2 separate regions of the Homo sapiens genome follow, and region 1 is linked to region 2. The links are contacts of gene promoters, found by promoter capture Hi-C in human tissues and cell types (Jung and others, 2019). All regions are on one chromosome and are shown on one strand. Each heading gives the region's core, a stretch centred on a gene start or on the middle of the fragment in contact. The rest is flanking DNA. Distances are from core to core; before and after follow the strand shown.

Region 1 (3,856 bases), core at 504-3,003, 850 kb after region 2:
TTTAGTCAGGGTCTCATTCTGTCCCTCAGGCTAGAGTGTGGTGGCACAATCATAGCTCATTGCAGCCTCAACCTCCTGGACTAAAGGAATCCTCCTTCCTCTGTCTCCCAAGTAGCTAGGACTACAGGCATGCACCACCGTGCCCAGCTAATTTTTTATTTCTTTGTGGAGAGGAGGTGTCAGTATGTTGCCCAGGCTGGCCACAAACTCCTGGCCTCAAGGGATCCTACTGCCTTGGCCCCCCAAAGCACTGGAATTATGGGAATGAGCCACCATGCCCATCCAGATTCCTATCCTAAATTTTCATGGCAAATCACTCATGGTCCTTGCTCAATGAGGCCTTAGCTAGGATGACTTAAATAGCTGGGATCTGGAATAAACTCAGGCCTTCTTTCTTCACATATCTGTTACGTAGGCTAGCATTACTTGAAGACTTAAAATATCTGCACATGGCATCTCCATGTGGCTGGAGCATCTCTTAGGGGAGTTTATGGGTTCTGAGAGGGAGGCCCCTAATTGAATCTGGTGGAAACTGCTTGACTTTTTATGACTTAATGGCATAGAATCACTTCCGCCATTCTCAATTGACTGAAGCAAACGTAACTTCATACATCTGATCCCCTGGGAGAAGTGGAATTATTAGACATTAGTAAACAAAGAACAGTTTTCTCAGTTTCGAGGTTATAAGCCTTATGTATTTCAGGGGTATCTCTAACTTTTATGATTGTTAATCCTGGAATAAACATGACCTTCTGTGATATATCTCAGTATTTCCCTGTGGAGAACAGACTGTCAAGATGTTACTCTTCTGTTCCCAAATGGTAACATTCCAAGTTTTTATTCCTTTTTCCCCCCCTGTTTGGTTATCAGTCAAGTTTCTTTGGGTCTTGGAGCAATAACTAGTGCATCAGGGGATAAGATACTTTCCATAAATGCAGGTTTTACCCTAGGACCAAAGCATAGCATGCTTTGGAATGCATTCTTTTTTTTTTTTTTTTTTTTTTGAGATGGAGTCTTGCTCTGTTGCCGAGGCTGGAGTGCAATGGCACGATCATGGCTCGCTGCAACCTCCACCTCTCGGGTTCAAGCAATTATCTTGCCTCAGCCTCCCGAGTAGTTGGGATTACAGGTGCCCACCACCATGCCCAGCTAAGTTTTGTATTTTTAGTAGAGACAGGGTTTCGCCATGTTGGTCAGGCTGGTCTCGAACCCCTGACCTCAGGTGATCCGCCTGCCTCGGCCTCCCAGGAATGCATTCTTTTCCTCAGTTAATGCTAGCATTTGGCAGCTGCCATTCCCTAAAACTTCTGAGCCCAGAGCCTGTGCCTCAGTCCTCAAATGCCCTGTAGACGTTACTTCCTCACTCTGCACTTGTTCCCTTTCAATCTCACCGTTGCTCGCTCCTCTCTGCTGTGATGAGCAATTGCTGCCTTCTCACATCAGGGATGGCTTCCATCTGGCCAGAACTGTAGGTGGAGTCCTGATCCATGTGAAGAAGGACTGCTGGGAGCCCATCTTAAAAGTAATACCTTTTTACCACCTTGGGAAGACTTCAAGGTGAGGTGTGCTTCACAGTTCCCCGGGCTTCTTCCTGAAGTGCACTGAGGTTTCTGAGCCCCTCTTCAAGGCAGCTCCTTTGCTATCAAAGGTGCACCTGTTGCTGGCCATCCAGCCTCTGGGCTAGAGCTCTGGAAGAGCTGCCATGTCAAAGCCACCCACCGTGAAACCAGTTCCCTCGTTCCCAGCATTACGCTTCCTCCAGTGACAGACTTAATGCTTCCCCACTTGCTTTTTTGAAAAATAACTAAATAAACCCAAGGGAGAGTTCAACAGTTTTAAGGAGGATGCCAGAATACCAAGAAGAAAGGATTCATTCCTAAAATAGAAATTCTGAAGCACTAGGAGTACATGCTACAGACCCCAGTTGTAGAACCCAGGGTGTAAGCCATTTTTCTATGATGAAGTTTGAGTTTGTTTTGCTTTTGGTTTAGTTTGGTTTACTGTTTTCCTAGTGAGTTCTGACTCCATAGGGTTTTTGTTTGTTTGTTTGTTTGTTTTCTGTAGGACAGGGGTTCTGCTGACACTGTTTTGTTTGAAGGGAGATGGGGACAGCTGAGACTCTGGTAAGCAGTTCTTATGCACAAAAGTTAACAGAGTTGTCCCATAGCAACTGGCTCCTGCTGCCAGGGTTGGCTGGGCCTGCAGAGTAGTGACTGCAGGACTCCAGGCCCCCTGCTTCTGTTTCCAAATGGGATCCTGCTGCTGGTAGCAAAGCTGCTCCCTTTTGTCAAGCCCTCCTGGTGCATCCTTTACAGACAAGTGGGCTGCAGCTTTTGCCAGATGGGTTGCTGATGGTGCAGCTGCCCCAACTGAGCAGTAAACTCAAAAAAAAAAAATGCTGATGGAAATGGGTGTGCTGAGCAAATGCGCCTGTCTTGGGGAGATCAGCACATAGTTTGTCTGGGGCAGCTCCCTGGGGCTTAAGTACATATTGATGGAAGCCAAACAGAAGTCTGAGAGATCTTGCCTACTGAAGTCAAAATCTGCCTGCTCTGAACATAAGGCATTGAGCATTTCATGCCACCCTCTTGGGGATCAAGTGCTGTGGCTGTTTGGTGGGGTAATTACAAATGTGGACTCTGGAGTGAGATTGGGTTGGAGTGCCCTCTGCCACTTCATAACAGCAAGAACTCAGGCAAGTTAATGAATTCTGCAAAGCTTCAGTTTCTTTATTTGTAAATCTGAGATGCTAATATCCATCTTTGAGGATTTTTATCATGATTAAATGAGAAAATACATGCACACCACTTTGCACGGTGCCTGGTAAAAAGAATATGAGTATTGCAGTCGGACAAATCTGGGTAGTAATCCTGGCTTGATTACCCACCAGCAGTATAGCCTGGGGAAAGACATAATCTCTGGTAGCCTCAGTTTATTCATCTGTTTAATGGTTTCACAATCATCTTCTAATTGGTTGTTATTAAAATTAAATGACAATTTATGAACATAGGGAAAGCATTTATGAGAGGCACACACATGCTGGTTTCACCCTCCTTTGTCTGCCACTGCGTGCTCTGGCTTATGCGGAGCCCGTGGAGGGAGTGAGTCTCCCGCCACCATCATTGATTTATTGGGGCCAACAAGGACTTGCCTGCCAGGACCTTGCTGGGGATTCCATGCATCCACTTCACCACTGCAGTCAGGAATGGATTTTTCCGCCTGAAGTGACGAGAAGGAAAGGTGCATTAATGTGGAGCCTCCACACCATACATTTCACAAAGACCAATAACCAACTCTGAAAGGTGCAAGCCCAGGATTTATATGTGTGATAAGTCACAGCTTTACCTATTTTTTTTCTAGACCACCACAATGAGCTGAAAAAAGAATGTATGAAAGTCATTTCCCTCTATTTAAAAATCTGGACCTACACTGTAGAATATAAAATAGCCTGTAAGCTATTTCTGAAGGGAAGAGGCACTTGATTAAAAGAGAGAAGAGATAAAAGCAAAAGAAAAAGCAAACAAAGGGAAATTCAAGAGCTGAAGCTAAAACAGGATATTACAAAGAGAGTTCAATTTGTGGCTGCCAATAATTTAACTGGCACAGCAGCAAAGGAAGGGGTACAGGAAAGGAAAAGAGAAGAACCTGGGCTGGGGGACACCTCTTTGCACCTCTCACCTCCATACTCAAGAGATCAGCTCTGAAATATAGAGAGACCACCTGGTAAGGGGCCCAGCAGTCACAAGGTCTTCTTTCCATGTGCTGGTGCCTAGTCTGCTGGGCACCCCAAGAGGCATGAAATGACCTGGGTGAAGACAGCCTCAGGTATATCCAATGTCTTTGTGCCACTGAGGTA
Region 2 (3,756 bases), core at 1,249-3,748:
AGGACGGGGGGCGGGTGGTCCCTCTCCCACATCCCAGGAATGGATTAAAGTCTCTCGGTGGGACTGAGGTCTTAGGGTCCTTCCTTTCCAGCTGGGTCTGGGAGGAGTCAGGAGTGCACTGGATTTAGGATTTGGGGTCTTCTCCCATCACTCCCTGTTCCACGGAGAGACAACTGTGTTCCCAGCAGGGGTCAGTAAAGCAGTAGGACCACTAGGGGTGAGTGGGGGAGGTGGTGACTGGAGGTGATCAAAGTCTACTCGGAGTGACCAGACATAGGCGAGGTCTTCCCCTGAATGGATTTGTGAGATTTACTCCTGACTTGGGACTTCCAGGGCAGTCACCTGGACGAATTTCCAGCATTTAACCGTGGACAGACACAAGTCCTCCTGCCATTCGGGAAAACTGAAAACGTGAGTGAGCGGTCAGCTAAGCCTGGGTTCAGAGGTGAGAGGATGTTATCTGCAAACATCCATCTTTGCAGTGAGCAAACAGACGCATTTGGCTTGAGGTGGAGGGCCTGGCCCTAGGAGACAAAAAGACCCCCTACCAAACAGCATTTTTCTCTAAATGCCCCTTGAATTGAGACACAGTTGCCGGGTCTCCTGCGGTCTTATTCTCTGTGAGGAATGTCTTCCTCAGCTCCACAGGCCGGCCTCACCAATTGTCTTGGGATTAACCCTTGGCCATCCCGATCTTGCTCTCTCTTCTCTGTGTTTTCCTTCCAGCCTCCATGTCACCTTTTGAGTGTCAAGGCATCTTCCATTGGCCACGAAATGACAGAGAAGTCATCCATCTGCAGAAGCCTCCTGTGTGCACCGTGGAATCACCGTGTCTGTACGGGCACGAATGCTTTAAGAAAACAGCCCTGCTTCTTCACAAACTCTAGTCATTTCACTTGGAATCTGTCCATCAAGAAATTAGGTTTGCAGAGTCCAAAGCAAGCTCCCTAGAGCTTTACAAACAAGCTGGCGGGCAAGGCAGCGCGCCCTATAGTGTCTCTGTGGAGCGCTAAGATCTGTGACCCCTTTGCCACATGGGGTGTGCGCTCAGACTGGGCTATGAATATATCAGCCTCTCTCCACCCGCACTTAGGGACAGAAGATATGGAGACTCCAGGAACTTCATGAACTATTTGCTGTGGTCTTCTGTCCCGGGATAGTCCGGGTCTCACTCCCAGCTCTCCAGAGCTTAACCCTCCCTCTCAGGGGAATGTTTGAAACCTACGAAGAATTCTCAGGAATTCGAGGTAGAAGGTGGCAGAGAGACTTCTGTTCCTGGGGGCCGAGCTGTTGTGCTGATACCGTCCTCTTGGCGTCTGCCCTAGTGGGGACCCTTGATTTTAACTTGAAGTTCCTGGACTGGGTCTAACCTTAGCATGTGTGCCTGAGTGATGGACTTGGTATTTACACCAGCCACGCTGATAAGTGCACATGTGTTTTTAATGTTTTGGCTTTCCACACCACAAACACACAGATGTGCTGTCGCCCGGGCTAGGACTTGAGTAGGGTTTTTCTATTTAAATATATATTATATATTTAAAAAAGTGTCCTCCCAGAGCTAATACCGTTGCTAGCAGCTCTTCCTGCCGCCACACCGGGCAAAGTCCACCCACTGCCCCAGTGTTGAGGGCCACCATGGGCGGCCCCACCTGGAGAGGTGCTGCTCACAGCAAACAGCTCCAACTGCGCCTTCGCCTCGCCTTCCAGGGAGCCCAGCCAGGCCCACTGGGTATTTACAAGCAGACCTCCCTCGCTTCAGCCTTCCTGAACCCCTGTTAGTTGGGAAACCACCTGTCTGCACCGCAGCTAGAGAACCGAGGAGAGGAGCCGCTAGTCTAAAGGGCTGTTGGTTGAAATTAGGAAGCAGTGTAAAGAAAAAGAAAAAAAAAGTTTGGGAGGCCAAGGCAGGAGCATCACCTGAGGTCAGGAGTTCGAGACCAGCCTGGCTAACATGGTGAAACCCCGTCTCTACTAAAAATACAAAAAATTAGCGGGGGCATGGTGGCACGCGGCTGTAATCCCAGCTACTCGGGAGGCTGAGGCAGGAGAATCGCTTGAACCCGGGAGGCGGAGGTTGCAGTCAGCGGAGATAGCGCCATTGCACTCCAGCTTAGGCAACAAGAGCGAAACTGTCTCAAAAAAAAAAAGTCTTCATAATTTCATGGGTTTGCAAGTATGATCCAGGCTCCCCGCTTCTCTGCAAGCCAATGCGAGTTAATTACAGCGTCCGCCCTGGTCTCTCTCCACCCCACGCCGTGATCCATTCCCCTTCTTTTTCTCCCCTTGTCTCTTTCCTCCTCCCCCTTTTATTTATGTATTTTTGGTTTTGTTTTTTAAGGGGTGTTGAGCCGCGTCTGGTTCTAGTAAACCGAACCCGCTCGCGAGGGAGGCGATTGGCTCCCGCGCCGGTGACGGACGTGGTAACGAGTGCGGCTCGCCCCGCCGGGAGCTGATTGGCTGCGCGGGGCGGCTCCGAGGGCTCGGCCGTAGGAGCCCCGCGCACTCCAGCCCTGCAGCCTCCGGAGTCAGTGCCGCGCGCCCGCCGCCCCGCGCCTTCCTGCTCGCCGCACCTCCGGGAGCCGGGGCGCACCCAGCCCGCAGCGCCGCCTCCCCGCCCGCGCCGCCTCCGACCGCAGGCCGAGGGCCGCCACTGGCCGGGGGGACCGGGCAGCAGCTTGCGGCCGCGGAGCCGGGCAACGCTGGGGACTGCGCCTTTTGTCCCCGGAGGTCCCTGGAAGTTTGCGGCAGGACGCGCGCGGGGAGGCGGCGGAGGCAGCCCCGACGTCGCGGAGAACAGGGCGCAGAGCCGGCATGGGCATCGGGCGCAGCGAGGGGGGCCGCCGCGGGGCAGCCCTGGGCGTGCTGCTGGCGCTGGGCGCGGCGCTTCTGGCCGTGGGCTCGGCCAGCGAGTACGACTACGTGAGCTTCCAGTCGGACATCGGCCCGTACCAGAGCGGGCGCTTCTACACCAAGCCACCTCAGTGCGTGGACATCCCCGCGGACCTGCGGCTGTGCCACAACGTGGGCTACAAGAAGATGGTGCTGCCCAACCTGCTGGAGCACGAGACCATGGCGGAGGTGAAGCAGCAGGCCAGCAGCTGGGTGCCCCTGCTCAACAAGAACTGCCACGCCGGCACCCAGGTCTTCCTCTGCTCGCTCTTCGCGCCCGTCTGCCTGGACCGGCCCATCTACCCGTGTCGCTGGCTCTGCGAGGCCGTGCGCGACTCGTGCGAGCCGGTCATGCAGTTCTTCGGCTTCTACTGGCCCGAGATGCTTAAGTGTGACAAGTTCCCCGAGGGGGACGTCTGCATCGCCATGACGCCGCCCAATGCCACCGAAGCCTCCAAGCCCCAAGGTAAGGCTGCCTCCTCCCACGTGCGCGAGCCGCCCCCTCCATCCCCCGGCCGGAGCTGCAGGAGAACCCGCGCCACCCTACGCCCGCCCGCCGCTGGGTCCCGGTGCTGGGGACTGAGGGCCCGAGGTTGCTCGCATGCTGTGCACGTGATTCCTAAGCGCGTCTGGTCTGTCCCAGGTATCGCTCAGCGCCCCTCGCGACCCAGGTGCACGGCGGGGCTGGCCCGGGAGCGGCAGCTCTGCGCCTTGGCCTCGCAGGGACTCGCTGTGGTCCCCGGAGCCGCTCTTCCTGGGATCCAACTTCGCCTTTCCCATACCTGAAACAAAGCCTTGCGCTTTAAATAACAGGGGAGCTTCCCTCTCCTCTAGGAGGACTCCGAGTCCCTATCGAAGTTTTTAACC

The links. Contacts are between HindIII fragments. The study calls those that stand out against the background at their distance.
Region 1: a contact is called between a fragment that was not itself captured here and the fragment with the promoter of SFRP1 in region 2, in 1 of the 25 tissues and cell types used here (IMR-90 fibroblasts).

Annotation. Positions count from the first base shown.
Region 1 is chr8:40,455,916-40,459,771 of GRCh38, reverse strand. No RefSeq gene overlaps it. Among named protein-coding and RNA genes, the nearest start is that of SIRLNT, 110 kb to the right of the region's middle. The HindIII fragment of the contact is 6,301 bases long and covers 1-3,856 here.
Region 2 is chr8:41,308,215-41,311,970 of GRCh38, reverse strand. It overlaps SFRP1 (secreted frizzled related protein 1), which reads left to right and starts at 2,498. Exons shown (of 3, transcript NM_003012.5): 1 at 2,498-3,355. The coding sequence starts at 2,812. RefSeq lists enhancers at 331-858, 2,778-3,548, 3,549-3,756. The HindIII fragment of the contact is 13,871 bases long and covers 1-3,756 here.